Regions from separate parts of the Homo sapiens genome. Here regions 1, 2, 3 and 5 are each linked to region 4. Evidence: promoter capture Hi-C in human tissues and cell types (Jung and others, 2019). All regions are on one chromosome and are shown on one strand. Each heading gives the region's core, a stretch centred on a gene start or on the middle of the fragment in contact. The rest is flanking DNA. Distances are from core to core; before and after follow the strand shown.

Region 1 (2,700 bases), core at 96-2,595, 660 kb after region 4:
CCACCAAATCCTTCAGCAATTACTAGATTCCTTCCCTGACCAACACCCCCAGCCAAATTCAGTTTCCTGCCTCCTTTTTCTATTGTTGAACAATGGGCTGAGCTCTTAGGCATATCCCTAAACCCAAGTAAGTCCCAAGGCTCCTGTGTATGGTTGTATAATCTGTGCACTATACATAGGTACCCAGCCAAGGGTGTGAATGGGGCTAAAATCCATCCTGGGCTTTCTGCCAAGCCAAGTGGCTGAGTCTACTGTGAAGAAAGGTTGCCCTTTTCTAATTGGTCTGCCCTGGAGAGATGCTTTTTTTTTTAATAACTTGTACAAAGGTACCATATTGGCTAGCGGTGGCACTGATCCTCTCTCCACTTCCAGAAATGCTCCTTTGTTTATTCCTGCTTCCTTAGACCAGATGCTCTTGGATAGCACTTTCTTTGGCAAGCTCAGCCTGATCTAAAACCAAACTTGTAACTTCTCTGCCAAAGCCTGTGGCCCTTTCGGTATTCGTTACCCTAGTCAATGGCGCCACCATCCATTCATCCAGTCACGCAAGCCAGAAACTTGGAAGTGATACTTTATGCCTTTTTTTTTTTTTTTAACTCCCCAGGATCCTTCCATTCTACTGATTCCAACTCCTAGTTATCTCTTGGATCTATATCCATCTCTCCACATTTACTGTCCTTGCTTTGAGCCTAGTCCAAAAGCCTCTTAACTGGTCTCTGCCTCACACTTATTCTACTGCCAGAATACATATCAAATGAAAAAACGTGTTTATTTTCTTTAAGTTCCATGGCTTCTCATTTCCAACCCAAAACCCCAAAATCTAAACACCTTTCCACACCACACACAGCCTTGGTGAACTAGCTACTCCCCATCATGCCAGCTTCATCATGCATTTCCATGCCCCTGAGCCTCTGTGCCTTTGCATAGGTTGATACTTCTGCTTTAAAATCCCACCCCCACCTTGTTCTATTAGCCTATTTTTTTCACATCCTTCAAGACGTAGCCATAGTTCCAGCACCTAGCACAAGACTTACATAAAATAGATGCACAACAAATGCTTGTTAAATGACTATAAGGATGGATGGATGGATGAGTGGATGGATGGATGAATATCATCCCATCTACCCCATGGAACCTTTCTATACTCCAGCAGGCAGAGTTTGTTCTGTGACAGCCCCTTGTATTTACATACCTCAAACATAACACTTATTATATGGTTACATAATAATCTGTTGACATATCTATTTCTGCAACTAGATTATGAGCTCATTAAGTGCTAGTACTGTGTTTTGCTTACTCTGAACTCTTAGTATCTAGCCCACTATCTGGTACATAGGAGGCACTTAGTATTTGTTAAATAAAAGAACAACGATGGAAATAACTATGTATCAAAAACTGAGATGCAGCCAAAGCAGTATTTAGAGGAAAATGACAGCCTTAAATAAACATATTAGAAAAGGAGGATGGCTAAAATTAATGAAATTTAAAAATCAAAATAAATCTGTCTCATGAAGTTAGAAAAGTAAAATTAACCCAAAGAAAATGGAAATAAATTTTTTTTAAAAGACAAATAAAATTAGTAAGTTTCTGGAAAGACTGATTAATAAACAAAGAAAAACTCTGGGAGGCTGAGGTAGGAGGATTGCTTAAGGCCAGGAGTTCCAGACCAGCCTGGCCAACATAGTGACATCCTGTTTCTTTTTTTTTTTTTTTTTTGAGATGGAGTCTCACTGTCACCCAGGTTGGAGTGCAGTGGCACGATCTCAGCTCACTGCAACCTCCGCCTCCCCGGTTCAAGTGATTATCCTGCCTCAGCCTCCCGAGTAGCTGGGATTACAGGTATGCGCCACCACACCCAGCTAATTTTTTGTATTTTTAGTAGAGATGGGGTTTCACCACGTTGGCCAGGCTGGTCTCAAACTCCTGACCTCAGGCAATTCGCCCGCCTTGGCCTCCCCTATTTCTATCTTTAAAAAAAGTTAAAAATAAAAAGAAAATAAGAGAAATTTAAAAATGTCCTATAGATATTAAAAGGATAAGGAGATCTTGTTGACCAGTACAGACCTTCAGGAGAGCGGTGCAAATGCAGGCCTGCTATAGTCTACTGTCTGCACAGGACAGGGTGAGAAGAGAACAATGCCGCAGGATACTGGTCCACTAGTGCCTTTGCACTGGTTTGGGTTTTGGCTACGCAGCACTGGTTGCCTCTGGAGGGATCACTGACTATGCAAAAGCAGGTAGAATGCTATTCCTCTCTGGGGGTTTAACAGGCCTGGGTGCTTATCAGCTCTCAGGATCCAAGGGATGCTTGGGTTTTCCTTGCTACGTCTGAGACCTTGGCTGGCATTATGGGAATGAGATTCTACCACTCTGGAAAATTTATGTCTCCAGGTTTAATTGCAGGTACCAGTTTGCTGATGGTCGCCAAGCTTGGAATCAGTACGTTGAACAAACCCCATCAGTAGCAGTCATCTTCCAGCTTGGACTCTTTAAGAATTAAAAATCTTCAAACTTCCACTATTTTCAAGGTATTAACAGAAATAAGTACAGCATTTTTGCATATTCTGACATTTTACTTTATTTATTTTTATTATTTTTTTTTGAGACAGGGTCTCACTCTGTCACCCAGGCTGGAGTGCAGTGGCGGATCTCGGCTCACTGCAACCTCCGTTTCCCAGGTTCAAGTGATTCTCCTGCCTC
Region 2 (2,700 bases), core at 163-2,662, 570 kb after region 4:
TGTAATCCCAGCTACTTGGAAGGCTGAGGCGGGAGGCAGAGATTGCAGTGAGCCAAGATTGCGCCACTGCACTCCAGCCTGGGCAACAGAGCTCATGCCTGTAATCCCAGCACTTTGGGAAGCCAAGGTGGGTGAATCACTTGAGGTCAGGAGTTCGAGATCAGCCTGGCCAACATAGTGAAACTCCATCTCTCCCAAAAATACAAAAATTAGCCATGCTTGGTGGCAGGCACCTGTAATCCCAGCTACTCGGGAGGCTGAGGCAGGAGAATTGCTTGAACCTGGTAGGCGGAGGTTGCAGTGAGCCAAGATCATGCCACTGTACTCCAGCCTGCACAACAGAGTGAGACTCCATCTCAAAAAAAAAAAAAAAAAGAAAAAGAAAGGCAGTGGGATGTTGGGTCACTGCCTGGGACTAGCTGTGCCCACATTTCTATGGGGTCTCTAGGATAATAACTGGAAAAATAGTTTTCTGATATATTTTCCTAGTATAAACTAACAGCAACATAATTCTGTGCTATTTTGTGTAATATGTTAACTCCATCTGTTCCTGAATGTATTCTCTTTACACTGAGGGTGACAGCCCATAGTCACAGACAGGATTAAAAGTTATTTTCATCAATATGCTGCCATGGGATCAAAAAAAAAAAAAAGTTATTTTAAAAGTTATAATACAGCACTTCGGGAGGCCAAGGCGGGTGGACCACGAGGCAGGATGGTCAGGAGATCGAGACCATCCTGGCTAACATGGTGAAACCCTGTCTCTACTAAAAATACAAAAAATTAGCTGGGCGTGGTGGTAGGTGCCTGTAGTCTTAGCTACTCGGGAGGCTGAGGCAGGAGAATGGCGTGAACCCGGGAGGTGGAGCTTGCAGTGAGCCGAGATTGCACCACTGCACTCCAGCCTGGGCAACAGAGACTCCATCTCAAAAAAAAAAAAAAAGTTATAATACAGGTAGCCTCATGCTACAGTGGAAAAGCTTCGGGTTTAGAATAATAAGAGCTAGGTTTAGGCCTTAACTTCATCAATTACTGGACAATCCACTGTTTCCCCATAAGCAAAATGTATATAGCTGAAATGCTACTTTGCAGGACTGGCAGGAAGACCAGTGAGAAAACATATAGAAGCCTTCTGGAAATGGTAAGGTGGTTTTTATTATTTCAACAATAAAAATAACATCTATACCCATATCTAAGAAAAGCTGTACCTTTGAGTGATAGAAAGCCAAAATGGGTCTGTTAAGTGGGAAGCAGACAGAACCTGTAGACAGAACCGCCACTGCTGGTTTCATGACACTCAATGTGGCACCAAAAGGATACACAAAGGTGAGAGCCCTGTAAGAAATTAAAGAAACACATTCAAATTTTAAAAACATGAATACAAAAATTCTGAAAATAATCTCAATGTTTCTTGAGTAACACTCTTTTTTGAAACAGTCTCACTCAGTCACCCAGGCTGCAGTGCAGTGGTGCGATCTTGGCTCACTGTAACCTCCGCCTCTCAGGTTTAAGCTGTTCTGCAGCCTCAGTGCCTGCTATCACGCCCAGTTAATTTTTGTATTTTTAGTAGAGCCAGGGTTTTACCATGTTGACCAGGCTGGTCTTGAACTCCTGGCCTCAAGTGATCTGCCCACCTTGGCCTCCCAAAGTGCTGGGATTACAGGCGTGTGCCACGGTGCTCAGCTGAGTAACACTCTTTGATTCATTATCAAACAAAAAATTTTTTCTAAGCTTTGGTTTGTTAACTTAAAAACTGGGACAACTCTAGCTACACATTTAATAAAGCATTTTAAAAAACATGAAAGTAAATTAACAGGAAAGTGTAAGTGACTGTAACTGGGAGAACTAAAGAAGCCCCTGATGGAGGGAGGAGGAAGAGGATGGGGCCTCATCCAAGAACTGAACTCAAGCTGCTCTGCATAATAATATCTTACTGGTAAATACGTTCTTCTTCCTTAGGTTTGGCTAGTGCTATCTCTAAGAATTAATGTATATCACTGGATGGGTATGTTACCAGTTAAATGTCACATGAACAGAGGCATAAATATACGCTATAATGGACACTTCTACACAGATCTGCTTTGGAGTCCCTCCTCTACTCTCCACTGTCCTAACAAAGACTTGTCTTAGATTATCTAGAGTGAATTGGTCTGACCTGGGGCAATGTACTCCTGGAGAGGGTGTGGGATAGAGGAGCAAAGGTGGGGTGCAGATTCTGGGGTGAAGCCAACCCATGTAGGAGGGGTTAGGGTTTTACTCAAAGATGGAGCTCTGCAAAGCTTGAAGGAAGTGCTCTCAGAATGGAGAGAAACACAGATCTCAACACCAGGGCGTAAGGTTAGAAACTGGGGGAGGGGGTATAGGGGAAGCACCCATGAGGGGTTCCTCATAGAGATTTTAATTTCCCTTTTTCTTTAGACAACAAAAATTCTTTTTGGCTTAAGTTTAAAATTATTTCCCTCTAGTGTTTTTGTTTGTTTTGTTTTGTTTTTTAAGACAGGATCTCACTTTGTTGCCCAGGCTGGAGTGCAGTGGTATGAACATGGCTCACTGCAGCCTCAATCTCCTGGGCTGAAGCGATTCTCTTGCCTTAGTGCCCTGAGTAGCTGGGACCACAGGTGCATGCCACCACACCTACTAATTTTTATATTTTTTGTAGAAACGGGGTTTCACCATGTTGCCCAGGCTGGTCTTGAACTC
Region 3 (2,726 bases), core at 75-2,574, 720 kb after region 4:
CTCCAATTCAAAAAAACATTTGTTAAGAATCTGGTCCTAAGTGGGCATATGCAATAAACTCAAAACAAGCCTTTCCCTCAGTAAGTATTTTATTGAGATTTAAAGCACAAAATAGGTGAACAAATCGGGAGGAAGGTGGTAACACAGGAATGGGAACGTAAAAGTCAAAGTAGGCAGGACTCAAACTGGCCATAAAGGCACTACGGCATGTTCATAAACACCATCAAGTAAAAGAAAGGGGAATCAAGATGTTCTCACTTCTTTTCTGCTCCACCTTAATACTCCATCTAGCCACTGGTATGGAGCATGTCATCAACTCATTCTTCTCACAAGCTAGCAAGGGAATTAAACATTTTATCAGTCAACCCTATGCTCACCAAGTGAGCCAATGTTACACAGTGATTTTGTGCATCCAGTGACTGAGAACTACAGGCAAGGATAGGCCCTGACTGTTAATAAATTGGTCGTGGCTATTACTAGAAAATTATGGGTGCAGGCATTTACCTATACAATGACCTGCTTACTGTGGCAGCTAACAATATAGTCAAACCAGTCTATTACCATATGATGTCCTATTAACAAGAGAGCCCAGTTGAAGGATGTTTCATACTTTTAGAAAGCCTAATTTCTTACTGTAATATCCTCCCATCCCTCTTTTAAAAAGGCTGTAGTTCAAAAAGCTTTTATGTTCTTTCCCTGAAAACAAGAGAACTTTGGTCAAAGCCAATTTTTAAGAGTCATCACTTCTGCTGAGTAGGCAAAACAATGAACTATAACAACAGACATCATTTTCTTTCCTTAAATTCTGAGGTTTATGCTGGAAAAATAAACCCATTTCTTTATAAACATCTAATTAAATAAAGTATCAAAGAAAATAAGATAATGGAAGAAGCATCCGCCTTTTGGGGCACTATATTCCTAAGGTTGGGCTTTAAGATTTTTTAACAGGAAACCCAGGAATTTCTGAAAAACAAGGCCTTTTTCACATTACCAAGAACTCACAGCTACTCTGTGAATGCCCTAGATATTTGACTCAAATTTTTCACTCAATCTTATTAGGTATATTTCTGGATTATTTGAATCTACAAACCAACCCTAGAATATCATGCTTTCCAGTCACACCTGTGGCACAATGAGCAGTGTACGACCATGCCCCATCACAATCCAACCCTTGGTACCCTACATTGTGACACCTCCTAGAAAGGTATTAAAGCTGAGCCAATTAATCTATATTTTGATTTCAGACTAAGATTAATAAATGCTTTTAAATAAAGTAACTTTTAAGGTATCTGAACAAAGGGATGTAAGGTTAATTCACTTCTCAAACTGCAATTTCAACTCATCAGGCTTATGGATGTATGGACTAATTGCTAACCTAGTAACTCCTACAAATTTGCAGTATTCAAATTTGGTTTCCACAGTACTCATTACACTTTACTCGTAATAAAGTACAAAAGTTTTGCGTTTACCCATTTCACTGTTTTTCAAACCAATTACACAAAGCATTAAAATTTACAAGTATGATCTAACCAATTATCAAATAATCCCACTAACTACAAAGGGGACTGACTACTGGGTGGAACTTAACTGGCAACTGACTTTACTGAGATTAAGTGCCTGTTAAACATAATGATCTTTCAGCAGAAAATGCAGTATGTGCTTTTACACTTTGAATAAACTCAATTTCAGAACAAAAAGAGGCTACTTCCATTTCCACATGACAAACATTAAAGACAACTGAACCACTCTCAACACTAATTATGCTGAGAACTTCCAGAAAGTGGATTCTCTAAACAAGATCCCAAGTATTAGGAGCTATTTCTTAAATAGTTTAAATTTGCCTTTGAAAAAAGTTCCATTACTTAAAAGTATTAATTTAAGCAAAATCATGGAACACATTGACTAAAAAATACCTTTTATTTTTACTCAACTTGTTAAAGGGGCAGATAAAGACTTTGGCAAATTTGATTAACTGCACAAAATAATGTTATCCAAACTGAGTAATTTATTGCTGGTCTGAGGCTTGCCTTGTTTACACTTAAGTAGAATTTACGTTGTTTCCACAAATGGCAGATATCAACATTTAAAGGAATTTAATAGTGACCTATTCAATAAGGCAATCATCTTGGTAGCAAACTTTTATTTAAATCTTACATAACTCAAGCTTTATAAAAAGCCAACATAATTGAAAATTGGGTTCTCCCTCTAAAGCCTTAAGTATTCAAAGCTCAAAACAGTTAATTTAAAAATAAGCAAACAAATAAAACAAAAAAACCCTGCCAGCAGATCCTGCTGAAATACTAAAAAAAAAAAAAAAAAAAAAAAAAAAAAAAAAAAAACAACACTAAATGAGCTTAATCTTTACAAAAGTTACGTTAGCTCAAAAGCTATAAAATCAAAGTTATCTTAATTCTACAAAGAAGGGAGAGGGTCTTCATGCCACCATTTCCTTAGAGCCTCATCTTTTTCATCCAATTTGGCCACAAATCAAATTTCTGTGTGCCCCTGTTTTCAAGAGATTCCTCTTGCAGAAGAGGCCAAGTATAAACATGGAAGAGTAACTGCCTAAGTAGGAAAGTGTTCCATAATAATGTGCAAACAAGGAGTTCTGAGTTAATCTCTGGAACTCGACCTGGACCTTGATCTTGACTTTGAGCGAGATCTAGAACGGGATCTTGAAGTAGCTCTTTTTGGTGGAGGGGACACAGAACGGGCCTTTGAGGGTG
Region 4 (2,700 bases), core at 102-2,601:
CCACACACACTCACACAAACACACACTTACCACACACACACAAACACACACACTCTTACCACACACACTCACATACACTCACACACACTCTCTCACACTCTCACAGACACACGTTCACACACACGCACAGACACACACACACACAGATCTTCCTAGTCTTGGTGGCTCTTACCTTTCCCAGAATTCCTCTATACTCCCATTAACCTTGGGCTTAGCTGGGATTTACAATCATTAGCTCTGGCCACAGCTTCTTGCCATGGAGATTTATTTGTTCTTTTTACTGGAGTTTGGTGGGAACCTGAGTGGCTGGGAATCCACCCAGGCCCTTCTCTCCTGGCCCTGCCCCAAGAGCTTTCTGAAGTCTGGCCTCACAGGCTCCTAGGACACTAGAGCAAAAGACAGCTCAGAAAGGGAAATTTTAAAAAATCATGACCCTTGAGAATTTCTGAGAGGACCTCATTACAACACAACCCTGTGTTGACAGGAAGGGGACTCCTTTGACCTTCAGGGTCTGCTGGGTCTGCGGCAGGGGGCAGGGAGGGCGCCGAGGCATCAAGGGGTGGGGAGAGGAAGCTAGCGGGACGCCCAGTCTGTGTCTCAGGCAGAGAGGAGGGCAGGCTCCTCTCCCTTCTCTTTGCCCTTCAGGAGAAAGAGAAAGGGAATAGATGGTTGCTTCTTGCACCAAGTTCTCCCCGGCTTCCAGGGGTGGAGGGAGCTCAGGGTGGTGAGTGAGCACTGGACTGAGATTCTGTGTATCTTCCAGACCCTGTTTCCACAGCCTCCCCTCTCTTTCTGACTTCCCTCCTCTGCTTTCGGAAGCACATGTGAAACTGTCTCCATTCCTTTCTCTTTAGGTCACTGGATTCCTTGATGGGGCTGGCAGTGGTGCTGTAACCCCAGGTCCCCTTAGGGCATGTGAGTGGTGATGGGGCTGAGATCTGCCAACCTCCTCGCTCTGGGGGATTTTCAGTGTTCCAGGACTGGGTGTTCTGCTGGTCTCCCTCTCCCCTCCCTTCCCCGATTCCCCGGTGCCCTCCCTGCGCGCAGACCCAGGGGACTCTGAGAATGGAAGGGAGCTCTCATTCCCGGGAGGAAAAGACACCAGGTTCCCTGGGCTGCCTGCACTCAGTTCTCAGCCTCCTTCCTCATGCCTCCAGCCACTGCCCGGGTCTGCGGCACGGGCGCGATTTGAAATACCCCTCCTTCCCGCTTTGAAGAAGGCTGGGCTGGCTGGGGGTTATTTTGGGAGCAGCTTCTGAGATCCAATGGCCTTGTTAGGGCAACACTGACCTTTCCGTCCCAGAAGGAGGGCAGGATTGGAGAAGGGGGCGGGGCAGCGGCGGGGAGACCGACAGCCCCGCACACCCACTGGGGTGGAGAAGGGGGCCAGCGGGCTGCGGGAATTCAGCCTCCGGCGGGGGCTGCCACCGAGGGGAATTTCCCCTCTTTGAAAAGGCTGGGGACCCCTCCACCCCACCCTTTCACTGGGCTTCTTAAAGAGATCACACCGTTTTCCCTTGGACTTCTTGGAAGGCAGACTTGGGACGCTTTGTGGGGACTTTGAACCTTTCCTTCCTGCTTTCTTTCCAGCAGGCAGCCTTGCTCTGGCTGGTGGAGTCGGGGCTCCCGGGCATGGCACTGACTAGCCGACCCGGTGCTGACTTGGCGCCGGGGCTCTTTCAGCCTCTGCTGGCATCCTGCTTCCCCCCTCCTGGGGTGCAGTGGTGAGTCTGGGGGCCTGCCCCCGAGGGCACTGGAGGAGTGTTGCAGGCATCACCCACGCCCTCTGCACCCACGCTGGAGGACGGGGAGGTTGTCAGGGGCTATGATGAGATGAGTGGGGGCCGCTTCGACTTTGATGATGGAGGGGCGTACTGCGGGGGCTGGGAGGGGGGAAAGGCCCATGGGCATGGACTGTGCACAGGCCCCAAGGGCCAGGGCGAATACTCTGGCTCCTGGAACTTTGGCTTTGAGGTGGCAGGTGTCTACACCTGGCCCAGCGGAAACACCTTTGAGGGATACTGGAGCCAGGGCAAACGGCATGGGCTGGGCATAGAGACCAAGGGGCGCTGGCTCTACAAGGGCGAGTGGACACATGGCTTCAAGGGACGCTACGGAATCCGGCAGAGCTCAAGCAGCGGTGCCAAGTATGAGGGCACCTGGAACAATGGCCTGCAAGACGGCTATGGCACCGAGACCTATGCTGATGGAGGTGAGGCCAGCTGGGGGCCCGCAGAGGTGGGGTGGAGCCAGGGAGGGTGAGAAACCCTGGTGGAGGGTGGGAAAGGCGACCGGCAATTGGCACAGAATCAGATGGGCTAGGAAGTGATTTGCTGTGTGGTTTTGGGCAAGCTGCTCTACCTTTCTGAGCTTCCATTTTCTTGTAGTAAAGATGGAGCTAATAAAGGGGTTATTGAGAGGATTAGTGGCAGTGCTTAGTACAAAGCCTGCCATGTAAGTGCACACTCAACACACAATAAAATATAACTACTACCATTAGCATGTTCGGTATGCCCCAACATAAACAGCCATGGAATATACTCTAGCAGAATTAGGGTCTAGTCTTAACTTTGCCATGAAAATTATTTTCAAGCAATAGATCATGAGGAGTATTCATCCACCCACCCATCCATCCATCCACCCATCCAACTATCCACTCATCATCTATCCACACACCAATCCACCCACCCGTCCATCCAT
Region 5 (2,700 bases), core at 173-2,672, 680 kb after region 4:
GGTTGGGAAGAGGAAAAGGGTCTAGCAAAAGGGACTGAGAAGGAGTCTGCCATGAAGTGAGGGGGGACTCAGAAGAGTCTGGGTTTCTGGTGGACACTGAAGAAAGTTTTCAGCCTTCTGCCGTCAGCCTCTCTTGGAACTGCTCTGAGCCTAGGGAGCTACCTCACTTGAAGGCTCTCCTAGAAGCCGCCAGCCAATGACGAGTTGCTATGAGGTGTAAAGACCCCACCCCCTTGCCTTACTTTGGAACACCTCTGCAGGGCCATCTCAGTTCCAGAGCTTCCATTAGGTCAGGCTGAGGCCTCTGTTGAGACTACATCAGCAGTTCAGCTTCTTCTTCCGCCCAACCCGTCATTCCCCTACTGGTGATATTCGCAAGAGCACTCCGATAAACCTACACTCAAATCTTGCTATCGGAGTCTGTTTCGGGGGACCCGACCTAAAACAACCATTGTAGCCCCAGCCCAGAGCCGTGCACATAGCAGATGCTCAATAAATATCTGTTGGCTGAATGTGTCCATGGGTATTTTCTCTTGATGTCTGACAAGGTTTTCTCAATCCCTTGCCTTCCAAGGCCTTGTATACAAAAACGACCAATAAATGTCCTTACTATAGGTGTTGGGTGGGGAGTAGAGCCCTCGACAGCTACCCAGAAAACAACACACAGCAAGGCTGAGCGCTACAAACTTGGGGCCTCGGCCCCGCCCCTCGCCGCAGCTGCTTCCCGGACTCGGGAGGGGACGGAAGCGGCCCTGAGCGCAGGGTTCCAGGATCGGGACCCGCCACCAGCCTCCCGGGACTGGTATAGGCAAAGGCGGGCGGGGCGGTCACTGATCCGACAGTTCCGCAGAACGGTTACTTTTTAAAACGCTAAAATGGCGGAATTCTTTTTATTCTTTCTCTTTATGGCCAAAAAAAAAAAAAGAGAGAGAAACAAAAAAAATTCCATATTCCATTATAAAAATCCAAAATTAATGGTAGGAAAGTTTGCCAAATGACTCATTCATTTCCCAAGAAAACCAAAACCCCGCCCTCCACACCTTTCCATTAATAAAAAAACTCTTAATTGATTGCGTATCTCCAAACACGCAGCCTCCACCCTCCTCGCCCCTCCTGATCGCAGCCCGAAGCCACGCCGCAGGGTCGGCTGGGCCTGGAGTCCCGCACCCGCCTGGCCCCCTGCGCGCTCCGCCCAGACCGCTTTCCCCGGCGTTTTCCCGAACCTCCTCCCCAGCCCGCGCCCCCCGCCGGAGGCGCTCGGAAGGAGCGAGACGCCGGGGCCGCAGACCTGAGCCCTCGCCGCCCTGGACGGAGCGGGGTGGCGCGGCGCCCAGGGGACGCAAGGTCTGAGCCCACGCACCGCTGGTTGCTTACCTGCCTGGCCAGCCGGTGGCCGCCCAGCGCCTAGCTACGGTCCGAGCCGGGCGCCGCGCGCCTGCGCGTTCGGGGGGCGGGTCCGCCTCCCTGCAGGACGCAGAGCGCGGGGCCCGAGCGCCGGGCACATCTGCCCGGCCCAGGCGCAGGCCCAGGCTTCTGTGGCGCCCGCGCCCTCTTGCCTGCCTTCGAGGCCCTGGTTGTGCGCGCCTCATGCCCCCTCAACCTAGGACAGGTTTGCCGCACGGGCGTGGCGGGTCGAGATTTTTCCTGCCCCCGAACCCCTGCATCACAGCTAGCAGAGCGCAGCGGGGGCGCAGGGACCGCGGAGCTCGAAGAGAGAGCCTGGAGGGCTACCGAGCTGAGTGGTTAGTGACAAAAGACGAGGCTGCACCCAGGCATGCACCCCAGCCGAGTGTCTGCTCTGTCCAACGCCTTCCCACCGCGCCTGCCCTCACCCTGGAGGGGAGCTCAGGAGCGTCAGAAAACGGCCTCAGGAAGGGTGAAGGGCACGTGCGACCGGAGAGAGGAACCCTCGTGCGGGGACTCTGGTCCTGGCCCTGCCGGGCATAAAGAGCGGCATTAGCCGCGTCTACTTTTGGGTGACCCCACTGCGAAGGGCTGGGTAACATCAGTATCCCCCAGGTCCTCCATTTCGACATTGGTAAAGACTATCACCCACTTCATGGCGTATGGTCGTTTTCAGTTTGGGTTCCTGTGGTGGTGTAGCAATCACTGCCCCTCTCTGCTTCACTTTGACTGATCTCTTCGCCTCCACCTGATCTCTCTAATTAATCAAATCTCCTTGTTATTGGTTCTGGTAACACAAGATACCTGTCTCGCTTACACATACCACAGCTGGCACTTCACATAGATTTGAGTAATTCCAGAGGCTAAGAGGTTTCAAGCTCCAAGAGGGTAGGAAATATTAGTTTTTGTATTCCTAGTACCTAGCCCAGAGCGGGGCACAGAGTGGGTGCTTAATAAATATCTGTTGAGTGACTAAATGATGTAGGGTATGCAGATGAAAACAGGGTAACTTTTGGTACAGTCCACCATCCAGCCCCTCTCCCACACCAATGATTTAATTTAATCCCTTGATTTTACTTGGCCTTAAGTCATGGCCACATGTCAGACCACCAGGCTCCTGATTCCCTCCCAGGCCAGATGAGAAAAGGGTTCCTAATGAAATGTAGGCAAATTCTCCAAATTGCTGTGATCGACAGGTTTAAATTTATGCAGAATTTAACTATTCCGGTTGCCACGCCAACGCATTGCATGTGTTCTTCCTTGCTGCAATGTCAATTTTTAATCACATCTCATATT

What was found. Contacts are between HindIII fragments. The study calls those that stand out against the background at their distance.
Region 1: a contact is called between a fragment that was not itself captured here and the fragment with the promoter of JPH2 in region 4, in 1 of the 25 tissues and cell types used here (spleen).
Region 2: a contact is called between a fragment that was not itself captured here and the fragment with the promoter of JPH2 in region 4, in 1 of the 25 tissues and cell types used here (dorsolateral prefrontal cortex).
Region 3: a contact is called between a fragment that was not itself captured here and the fragment with the promoter of JPH2 in region 4, in 1 of the 25 tissues and cell types used here (hippocampus).
Region 5: the fragment with the promoter of L3MBTL1 here is called in contact with the fragment with the promoter of JPH2 in region 4 in 4 of the 25 tissues and cell types used here (IMR-90 fibroblasts, adrenal gland, lymphoblastoid cells and 1 more).

The regions. Positions count from the first base shown.
Region 1 is chr20:43,523,009-43,525,708 of GRCh38, reverse strand. The region is part of intron 7 of L3MBTL1 (L3MBTL histone methyl-lysine binding protein 1); the gene reads right to left. It also overlaps the pseudogene LOC107985380. Among named protein-coding and RNA genes, the nearest start is that of L3MBTL1, 17 kb to the right of the region's middle. The HindIII fragment of the contact is 4,063 bases long and covers 1-2,700 here.
Region 2 is chr20:43,612,485-43,615,184 of GRCh38, reverse strand. It overlaps IFT52 (intraflagellar transport 52), which reads right to left. Exons shown (of 14, transcript NM_016004.5): 7 at 1,209-1,335. Among named protein-coding and RNA genes, the nearest start is that of IFT52, 23 kb to the right of the region's middle. The HindIII fragment of the contact is 3,361 bases long and covers 1-2,700 here.
Region 3 is chr20:43,460,951-43,463,676 of GRCh38, reverse strand. It overlaps SRSF6 (serine and arginine rich splicing factor 6), which reads right to left. Exons shown (of 6, transcript NM_006275.6): 6 at 1-2,726. The coding sequence ends at 2,614. Among named protein-coding and RNA genes, the nearest start is that of SRSF6, 4.4 kb to the right of the region's middle. The HindIII fragment of the contact is 4,185 bases long and covers 1-2,726 here.
Region 4 is chr20:44,185,839-44,188,538 of GRCh38, reverse strand. It overlaps JPH2 (junctophilin 2), which reads left to right and starts at 1,351. Exons shown (of 6, transcript NM_020433.5): 1 at 1,351-2,212. The coding sequence starts at 1,834. The HindIII fragment of the contact is 16,539 bases long and covers 1-2,700 here.
Region 5 is chr20:43,506,419-43,509,118 of GRCh38, reverse strand. It overlaps L3MBTL1 (L3MBTL histone methyl-lysine binding protein 1), which reads right to left and starts at 1,422. Exons shown (of 22, transcript NM_001377303.1): 1 at 1,375-1,422. RefSeq lists a silencer at 1,212-1,541. The HindIII fragment of the contact is 9,495 bases long and covers 1-2,700 here.